Regions from separate parts of the Homo sapiens genome. Here region 1 is linked to region 2. Evidence: promoter capture Hi-C in 16 types of primary human blood cells and fetal thymus (Javierre and others, 2016). All regions are on one chromosome and are shown on one strand. The core of a region is centred on a gene start or on the middle of the fragment in contact, and the rest is flanking DNA. Distances in the headings are between cores, read along the strand shown. Region 1 holds the start of CIDEA (cell death inducing DFFA like effector a). Region 2 holds the start of GNAL (G protein subunit alpha L).

Region 1 (5,196 bases), core at 2,533-5,032, 570 kb after region 2:
CAAGTCACAAGGCTTGTTGACCACGGTGACCCTTTCTGAGAGCCAGCGGAGGAAGAGGGCGGGCATAGGGTCAGGTCTTAAGAGATCAGGTCAGTCTGCTCAAACCAGGTGGGCTCAGGAGGAGCCGGCGAGGGTCCCGCTGCAGCTCCCGAAACGCTGTTTCCAGGCGGCAGTCAGCAGTTGGGCACGAGAGGATATCCTAGCAAGCCTCCATCCCAGAAAGTTACACCTCTTACTGCCCGAGTCCCACCCCTCAACACTGAGCCCACCTCTTCAGTCCTGTAGTGAGGGGTTCTGGGAACCCCTTGTAACTGCCCGCCTTCCTCGGAGGTCTCAGAGGCCCTAATTGCGTCTTCCGATGGGAACAACCATGAGAGCAGGGTGTGGACGGAAGTCCCCCAGCCCCAGCGGGGTTCACTCTTTGCCTCCTCACTCTGCGAGGGTCCCTTACTACAGCTAAAAGGCAATTCATGCAGTCCAAAGGCTCCTTTCCCCTCCCGTTCTGCATGCCCTTCTCACTGTCCCCAAATGCTCATGACATGGCCTTGAGAGCAGCGCAGCGGGCAGGAAGCCCAGGCGCCTCGGAGAACCTGAAGGGCTGCAGGTCCCGGTGTCTGCGGCAGCTTCCGCATCCCTGCAGGGAACCAGCGGCTCGCTGAGCCTGGGGCTGGGCTCTGGGGGACTCCAGAGCTGGAGGCAAGTGGCGCTCACATCCGTCTCCTCACCTGCCCCACCCGTGGCCTGGGTTTAAAATCCACATACCCGTCTTTCCGCGGCCAAAGTGATGCTGCCAGGATTGGTTATGACCCCAACTGCCCCGACCCCCAGAAGTGCAAAACGAACAGGCTGGCAAGTGACCAAAAGAGACCCGGGGAGCATCTGGGCTTCCAAGGTCCTCGGTACGGCCCAAGGCAGCGAAGGACGCGCGGCTCCAGGCTGCGGGAGCCAGGACGACCGGGGGCTCCCAGAGCGCGAAGTCGCGATCCTCGGCGGTGGAGAGCTCGTGCCAAAACGTCCTCCCCTGCGCCAGTCAGGCCTTCGCGGGGCTGGCAGGCGGGCGGGGGCGGGGCCGCCGCACTTTAAGAGGCTGTGCAGGCAGACAGACCTCCAGGCCCGCTAGGGGATCCGCGCCATGGAGGCCGCCCGGGACTATGCAGGAGCCCTCATCAGGCGAGTGCCCCGCGTCCCCCTGATTGCCGTGCGCTTCCAATCGCCTTGCGTTCGGTGGCCTCATATTCCCCTGTGCGCCTCTAGTACCGTACCCCGCTCCCTTCAGCCCCCTGCTCCCCGCATTCTCTTGCGCTCCGCGACCCCGCGCACACACCCATCCGCCCCACTGGTGCCCAAGCCGTCCAGCCGCGCCCGCGGGCAGAGCCCAATCCCGTCCCGCGCCTCCTCACCCTCTTGCAGCTGGGCACAGGTACCAGGTGTGGCTCTTGCGAGGTGCGCGGGCGTCTGCAAACCAGGTGACAGCTGGCGAGTGGCTGCATGCATCTCTGGCCGCTGCTGCAGTCGCGGGCGCAGAAGAGGGTCCGGTCCCAGGAACCCCGAGCAAAGCTTCCGCGATGCGAGGGGACCGGGCTTCTGGGGGTCCTGGAAATCACAACGGGAGCTGGGCGCGGGAGGGGCCCAGGCTTGGCCCCTCCTGGAAGCGCGGGCTCTGGTCTCCGAGGGGAGGCCCCAACCGTCCGGCGGAGCCCTCCAGGTTGGTGGTGCTGGGAGAAGCGCTCCTCCTTGCCTCCGGGTCCAAGGGCGGAGACGCTGCCTGGGGAGCAGGGGGGACAAGGGGCGGGTGGACCCTGAGGAGTCTTCCCTGCGCTTCGCACCCGCTCGTGGTCGAACAGGCAGCATTGGCTATTTTCCTGCTTGGGTTAATATTCATATCCCAACAGACCCAAGCCAATTCTTGGTAAAATCCTAAGTCATTGCGTGGCAGCAACTGTAAAGTAAGGTCTAAGAGGGAGATCGTGTTTCTCTGAAGATCAAGTACCTGGAAAAGGATAGAGAACCATTTGCGGGCTTGAAGGTGCAGGCGTTCAGCGGCGCCGGGTCCCACTGTGTGTGCTACGTGTGGCGGGCAGAGAGACTACATGTGTGAAAGGGAGCGGTCCGGCTACGAAACGCAATCTATGAGCTTCCAATCCCGGGTTCTTAAATGGGAGCTGTTGTAGACACTGCAGGTTAGAAGCATCTTTCTCTTTAAAAATAAGCCCACAGTACAAGTCGGGGCGGTGGCAGGGGGACGCTGAGAAACACCTGCTTCGTGTATGGTCATTAACACGCTTAGGCCTAAAGGTCAGGGCCCTGTATCTTTTGCGTTCTTCCAGAACCATCCACACCACAGTCCCACTTCCAGGAGGGGAGGTCTTAGCAGTTTGGAATGCGTCCTTCCAACCACTTTTCCAGTGAATTCACAACACACCCACTGTTCCTCCGGAGCATGGGGGAAGGAGGTGTGGGCTGACTCGCACTAACCAATCCTGGTTGGCCTCTGAGCAGGATTCAGGCTGAGCCTGTCCCTGCCTCTGACTATTATAACAGCTCACCAAAATCCAAAATGCATCTGTGTGGGGTCTCTGTGAGGTCGTGTGAAGTGGAAGTGACTTGCTTATGAGCTGTTGACAAATGAAACATTGGGAAACCTTGAGTCTCCTAGGACACATTCCTTCCAGCTTGGCTCATCCCAGGAGTGAATGACTCTACCTGTTATGGACAAGCTGTTGCTGCAGTTCTTTGAAATCTACCTGCTTCCAGGCTGAACTACTGTCATTCTGTGAAATCTACCTGCTCCCAGGCTGAACTACTGTCATTCTGTGAAATCTACCTGCTCCCAGGCTGGACTACTGTCATTCTGTGAAATCTACCTGTTACCAAACTAAACTGGAAGAAAACAATCTGTAATTCTTGTTGAAGGGAAAACACCTTTTCTTCCCTGCCCCTCTCTAAAACCCTGTCCGGGCAAAAGAGCCAGAGGCCAGGTCCTAACATATTTGCTAATTGTGCTCTTGCTGGACTTCGGCTTCCTCTCAGGGTTCCTTAATTTAAACCAGGTCCAGGATGTCATAATTCTGTCTTTATTAGTAACTACATTTTACCAAGGAAAGAACCGAATCAATGTGCACAAAAATTTTTAAAAATCAGGTACTTGTAGTCAGTGGTGAAACCTTAACCCAGGCATTTGTTAGTCAGCTAGAATCGTTAGGGGCCTTGGTCCTGAGGAAAGCAGCCTGAGGTCTCACAACAAAGCTCCAGACATCAAGGAGGTCCACATGCAGGTTGACTATCACAGACAAAGTCTGCTCTGTTCCTGTGTTCTGCCAGTGATAACATTCCTGCCAAACGCTGAAGTTGTTATGAAGCTGGTACATGTTATAAGCTTCGTGTGAAATGGCTGCTTTCATAGCTATCTAGCACATTTTTCCTTTCCTTGAACAAGGAACTCTAGGTTTTGTGCTGCTATTTCAGTACAAATTTCACCAGTCTTCTTAGTGACATTAGTAAGGAATTAAGTATGCTACAAGTCAATCTCTCAGCTTTCTGCTTCTTGAATTTAAATTCTTATTTTAACGAAACTGCAAAGTGTTCAAAGACTTCATGGTCATGTATTGAACACTTGATAATGTCAAGCCTTTAGGTAGCTTGCGAAGAACTGAGCCATGAACCAGGCAGTCCTTGTCGGGGCGAGTTTATCTGGGGGGTAGGTGTGCTCCCACCTGCATATGTCACGTCCAAGAGCCCTAGGGGAGCCGGGCAGCAGGAAGTCTCGTCAAGGCAGCACTTGCTTCCCTGCTTCCTGCCACTGACCCCACCATCCTCTGACACTGTCTCTACAGCTCAGGGACTCTTCTCCAGGCCTGTGGAGCACTTTCCCAGCCCTCCCTTCCTTCTCTGCGTGGCTGTGCTTGACCTCACACTTCCCTCCTTGGCATTCCCTGCTGCTCTTGGTGACAGTGCTCGGTTGGCTTCTGTCCAATTCCTGTGTACTGCTTCTTCCTCCCACGGTGGCTGCCTCTTTTTCTTCCTAATGATGAGATGCAGAGTTCCCTCAGCCATCACTGCCCCCTGAATATTCCCAGGCACTATTTTACACAGCCTGTACTGCTGCCCCCTCACCCATGACACCAAAATATTTCACTTTGAGGAAGACCTTAATACTGGGCCCTTTTCCTCCATAGGTGGCATGTAAAGAAAGCTTTTTAATTCTCTGTACGGCTCAGGTTTGTTTTACTGGAGAAGAGTTCAGGTCTACTGTCAGTCTGTGGCTTGTTGGTGTATTTCACACACTTTTGGAAGTTGGCGGCGCCCTGCCTCCCTCGGGGCAGAATACAAAACCTTCCCTTCCCACCTGTTCCTGAGAGACATGCCGTTTCACAGCGTTCTATGAAGTCTGACTTTTCCTCTCTGGATTTCTGTGAAACAGCCTACTTCCTTAAACAAACTGTTTCCTTATATCTTCCCTGTTAGAGGGTTATTTCCCTTTCTGTTTCCTGTGGTTGTGTGCCCCCACTTTCACAGGAATTAGGAGCGGCAGTTCTCATGTGTGGTGTGTCTAAACGCAGGATCCTAGGGCCGCTCAGTGGCCCTGCTTTTAGGCACGGTGCTGATGGCCAGTGATAGAGATGACTCTACTCAGCGGGCTGGAGGTGACTTGGGTGGAGACGGTGGCTTGTTCATGTAGCAGCAGATTCGGTACCTGTAGGGTCCTGGAGTACATAGGCCTGGCGTGCAGAACATCTCATTCAACCCCTTTCTGTGTTACATATGAGACAGCCTTGATTTTACATAATTTGACCCAGAAATCACTCACCTCCTCCTTGACAAGAAGGTGGGGTGTAAATTTCCTTTCCTCTGTGCCCCCACCAGCCTTTCCTCCAGCAGTGACGCAGCTCTTGGTTTGGAAATGCTACAGGTGAGAACAATAGGTGTTTTTTCACTGACGATGGCAATCTTGAGGGCAGGTGAAGGCAGGGAGAACCAGAAATGGTTGCCAGCTCTTATCTTGTCAGACAGGTAAAGACCGCAGGAACCTGGAATTAATCATCTGGGCCAGGTCACCGGAGCACAGGTGCTTACGAAGGCGTGAGCATGTTCGTCCAATGAGGAGATGCAGGGCCAGGGCTGCGCCTTTGACCACTGGGGCTGGACCTAGCATTGGAAGACATGGACCATGTTCTCTCATTTCTCTGATTTTGGCCT
Region 2 (5,029 bases), core at 1,712-4,211:
ATTTCAGTATTTCCATTTATTTCTTGTTATGCTTCAATTTCTTGCTGAGATTCTCCATTTGCTCATTTATTATGTGTATCTCTTCTTTTAAATATGTGAACATATTTATAATAGCTGCTTTAAAATCCTTGTCTGCTGATTGTTACGGTTGAGTCATCTAGGCATCAATTTACATCAAATTTTGTGGGTCATATTTTCCTGTTTCTGTGCATGTCTAGTGTGCTTTTTGTTTGACACTGGACATTATGAATGATATGTTGTAGAGACTTGGAGTTCTGTTTTATTTCTCTAATGAATGATTTTTGTTTTCTTATTATAAAAAGTTCACTTGGCTTGACTCAGACTCCAAACTCTGTCTCCCCTAAAGTGAGAAGCACCTGAAATCTTTGTTCTTTTAGCTTTTCTAGTATTTTGTCAGGCCACTGAGGTCTCCCCCATCCATTGTTGTTCAGTGATCTGCCAAAGATTTGAGTAGATTTGATATACAAATGTGAGGGGGTCACACCTCTGAAGTTTCTTTCCTTCTAGGATTTCACTGCTAATGGTCTGGTTTTTCTCCCAGCTCCAAATTGTATTCTGTGACATTTCAAGTCAGAAAGTACAGCCAGCTTCATGGGCCTGTGACCTGCAAATTCATACAAGGGCCACACACATGGTTTAATGTTCTGCTATCACTGTCTTGAAATTATTATTCAATGAGGGGCCACATTTTAACTGACGTACTTAAGTATAAAAATCCACTCTAGGCCTGGTGTGGTGGCTCACGCCTATAATCCCAACACTTTGGGAGGCCAAGGTGGGAGGATCCCTTGAGCCTAGGCGTTTCAGATCAGCCTAGACAACATAGTGAAAACTCGTCTTTACTCAAAATAAAAATTAAAAAAATTAGCCAGGCCTGATGGTGCACACCTGTAATCCTGGCTATTCTGGAAGCTGAGGCAGGAGGATTACTTGAGCCCAGGAGTTCTATATTGCAGTGAGCTATGATCATGCCACTGCATTCCAGCCTGGGTGACAGAGAGAGATCCTGTCTTAAAAAAAAAAATCCATAAAATATTTGTTTTCATTTTCAGCTGACTTTAGTATACAAAATATTATCCTTCTTGTATGATATTGATAAAGTTTAGCTAATAAGTTATAATAGAAAAGCAATTGCTGTAAGTCTCTTGGGTCTCAGTTTCTTCAAAAGCCTTTCCTGCCTCACACACTACTCTTCCCCATCTCGATTTAAACAGGACCTTCCTTTATACTCTGAGAATCCTGTTTTTTCCCTTCATGGCATTAGCGTAATTTACAATTAATATATTTACCTGTGTTTTTATGATTGAGTATATTTCTACCTCATTAGTCTATAAATTCCATGAGGACCCCTGTCTTTGCCTCACCCAGCACCAACAAGAATGCCTAGGGTACTGTAGGCACTTAATTAAATGGATGAATGGATAAATGGATAGATGGATGAGTGAATGAATAGCGAAAATGACAGTGATATTTAGTAACTTTTTCTATTTTCCCAAGTTAGATTTTCTATAGTCCTCCTTTCTTTTGCTCAAATATCTAAAAGTATGCCATAATTTTAGCAAAATTTGGGGAACAATGTTAGGTCAAAAGTAGTACATGTATGCACATTTGTTATCAGTAGGACCCCCAAAAGAAATGTGAATGCCGGATCTCCAACTTCTTGATTTAAAAATGTAATCCAGGCCCGGCGCGCTGGCTCACGCCTGTAATCCCAGCACTTTGGGAGGCAAGGTGGGTGGATCCCTCGAGGTCAGGAGTTCGAGACCAGCAGCCTGGCCAACATGGTGAAACCGTCTCTACTAAAAATTCAAAAAAAAAAAGAAAAAAAGAAAAATTAGCTGGGAGTGGTGGTGGGTGCCTGCAGTCCCAGCTACTCGGGAGGCTGAGGCAGTAGAACCACTGGAACCGGGGAGGCGGAGGTTGCAGTGAGCCGTGATTGCACCACTGCACTCTAGCCTGGGCAACAGAGCCAGACTGTTTCAAAAAGAAAAAATGTAATCCAATGTAGTATTTACATCTAGTGCCAACGGGTACAGTGCACACTGTGCTGCATGCTGTGTTTCATTAAGCAGCCTAATCTGGTGTGTTAATGAGAGATGTATTTAACTATCAGCTATAATATTCCATGTCATTTTCCAAGGAACACATCTTACAGCAGGTTTTTCACAAGCTATATTGAAATGTTCACCTGTTGCAGAAGCTCTATAAGATGCTATGCATTCAGCGGGAAATAACCGAAGACATAGCACCTCTGGCAGGCTTGTTTCTCAGCGTCATGGAGAGAGCGCACCCAGTCTGAAGGCGCATCTGCTCCTCTCTGCCCTATATTGTGGATTAAGAAAATACAGTGTATAATCTCATATTCTCATTTCAGCAAATATAAATAGTACATGGCAATTATATGTGCTCGGTTTTCATTTTTAAGGGTGGAGATTGTTGAAAATGGTGTCGTGGACCAGACTCCAGAATTGGAGATTTTGTAGAGATCAAAGGTATAGTACTATTAAAGTAGGGATAAAGAGTGTGCAGACGTGGGTGTAAGATAATGAACAGAAAAGGGAGTGGCAAGGTGCAGAGATCTCTGCAAGAAATGGATTGGGGAAATTGAAGGCTTTAAAGCCACGGTCTCTATTCCTACACCCAGCTTTCCGTCCTCGGTTACTATCGCCCAAGATCAAAGCCACCCTGGTTTTCTGATTGCCGCAACTGCGGCTCCAGGTGCTGAGTGCACAGCCACTGCGGCACTGTCCGCAGCTGCGCGCCGGGCTCAGACGGCATTATTTACGGTACAGAATACTCGCCCGCGCGACGGTATTTACGGTAACGGGGACCAGCCTGGGCGGCAGTATTTACGGTAACGAAAGCCAGCTGTATTTACGGTAGCGAGGGCTGGACCGGCGGCGGCATTTACGGTAACGGGGGCCGGGCTCGCGGAGGCCCGTCGGTTCGGTCCGCTCTGGGCGTTAGCAAGTGATCTCCAGCCAAGGCGGCCGCCACCCCTTGCACACAGCAGAAAATGCAAAATGACCCTCTGGGGCAGTGAGGGGCTGTGGCCCTCGGCCCCGGCCTGCCGCACCCCCTTCCCGCAGCTGGCGGCCGGCAGCGCCGAACAGGGTCCGGGTGCAGCCCCCTCCCGCCCCTCCGCTGAGGCGCCGGCCTGAACTGGGCGCGGGAACCAGGCCGCCCTCGGCGCCCAGCCTGCCCTAGTCCCGCGCGCCGCCCCCGCTGTGCCGCGCCCACATGGGTCTGTGCTACAGTCTGCGGCCGCTGCTTTTCGGGGGCCCAGGGGACGACCCCTGCGCGGCCTCGGAGCCGCCGGTGGAGGACGCGCAGCCCGCCCCGGCCCCGGCCCTGGCCCCAGTCCGGGCGGCCGCAAGGGACACGGCCCGGACCCTGCTCCCTCGGGGCGGCGAAGGGAGCCCGGCATGCGCTCGGCCCAAAGCAGACAAGCCGAAGGAGAAGCGGCAGCGCACCGAGCAGCTGAGTGCCGAGGAGCGCGAGGCGGCCAAGGAGCGCGAGGCGGTCAAGGAGGCGAGGAAAGTGAGCCGGGGCATCGACCGCATGCTGCGCGACCAGAAGCGCGACCTGCAGCAGACGCACCGGCTCCTGCTGCTCGGTAGGTCCCGGCCGCGAGGTCGGCTGACGCCCCGGGGACAGCGCGCCGGGCCCGCGGGGGCGGCGGGCACCGGGGAGCGGTGGCGGGCACCGGGGAGCGGCGGCGGGAGGGGCTCCTGAATCCCGGGACTGGACCCGGACGGGCGGCGGGCGCGGACGGGCTACAGAGCGTTTAAACTGTGGGTGGAATGGTTCCCCTGACCTAGCCGGGAGGACACTACGGGCTGATTCTGCCCCTCCCAGTGCCTTGAGCTTACTGCCGCTCGCTCTCTCTAATTAATGAGCCTCTCTGGGAAGTCTCCCCCTCGATTGATCACCTTCCACAGGGTCGAATCCCCGGGGATGTCTACCCTAGCCTCTCACTTCCTGCTACACGAGGAGGCTGGCAGTTTGTTTTAAGAACACAGATGAAAGGAGATTTATAAGGCCTTTTAGCTTGACCGCAAAGCTTTTATTCCAATCACAGTGTTGTGGGTGGGTGTGGCCTGCTGCCTTTTGAGAAAGAACTTGAGCTGCACTTGCATTTTTTTTTTATTATACTTTAAGTTTTAGGGTACATGTGCACAATGTGCAGGTTAGTTACATATGTATACATGTGCCATGCTGGTGTGCTGCACCCATTAACTCGTCATTTAGCATTAGGTATATCTCCTAAAGCTATCCCTCCCCCCTCCCCCCACCCCACAACAGTCCCCAGAGTGTGATGTTCCCCTTCCTGTGTCCATGTGTTCTCATTGTTCAATTCCCACCTATGAGTGAGAATATGCGGTGTTTGGTTTTTTGTTCTTCCGATAGTTTACTGAGAATGATGATTTCCAATTTCATCCATGTCCCTACAAAGGACATGAACTCATGATTTTTTATGGCTGCATAGTATTCCATGGTGTATATGTGCCACATTTTCTTAATCCAGTCTATCATTGTTGGACATTTGGGTTGGTTCCAAGTCTTTGCTAATGTGAATAGTGCTGCAATAAACGTACGTGTGCATGTGTCTTTATAGCAGCATGATTTATAGTCCTTTGGGTATATACCCAGTAATGGGATGGCTGGGTCAAATGGTATTTCTAGTTCTAGATCCCTGAGGAATCGCCACACTGACTTCCACAATGATTGAACTAGTTTACAGTCCCACCAACAGTGTAAAAGTGTTCCTATTTCTCCACATCCTCTCCAGCACCTGTTGTTTTCTGACTTTTTAATGATTGCCATTCTAACTGGTGTGAGATGGTATCTCATTGTGGTTTTGATTTGCATTTCTCTGATGGCCAGTGATGGTGAGCATTTTTTCATGTGTGTTTTGGCTGCATAAATGTCTTCTTTTGAGAAGTGTCTGTTCATGTCCTTTGCCCACTTTTTGATGGGGTTGTTTGTTTTTTTCTTGTAAATTTGT

Evidence for each region. Contacts are between HindIII fragments. The CHiCAGO score rates a contact against its expected background, and 5 or more counts as called.
Region 1: a fragment that was not itself captured here is called in contact with the fragment with the promoter of GNAL in region 2 in 2 of 17 cell types (M2 macrophages and M0 macrophages); the score reaches 7.3 in M2 macrophages.

What each region holds. Positions count from the first base shown.
Region 1 is chr18:12,253,252-12,258,447 of GRCh38, forward strand. It overlaps CIDEA (cell death inducing DFFA like effector a), which reads left to right and starts at 1,110. Exons shown (of 5, transcript NM_001279.4): 1 at 1,110-1,170. The coding sequence starts at 1,133. LOC105371996 (a long non-coding RNA gene) reads left to right here and starts at 1,762. Exons shown (of 2, transcript XR_935158.3): 1 at 1,762-2,180; 2 at 2,328-4,205. RefSeq lists enhancers at 246-852, 5,008-5,196. The HindIII fragment of the contact is 816 bases long and covers 3,375-4,190 here.
Region 2 is chr18:11,686,303-11,691,331 of GRCh38, forward strand. GNAL (G protein subunit alpha L) reads left to right here and starts at 2,962. Exons shown (of 12, transcript NM_182978.4): 1 at 2,962-3,637. The coding sequence starts at 3,262. RefSeq lists a silencer at 2,765-2,914 and an enhancer at 2,853-3,353. The HindIII fragment of the contact is 5,620 bases long and covers 1-4,082 here.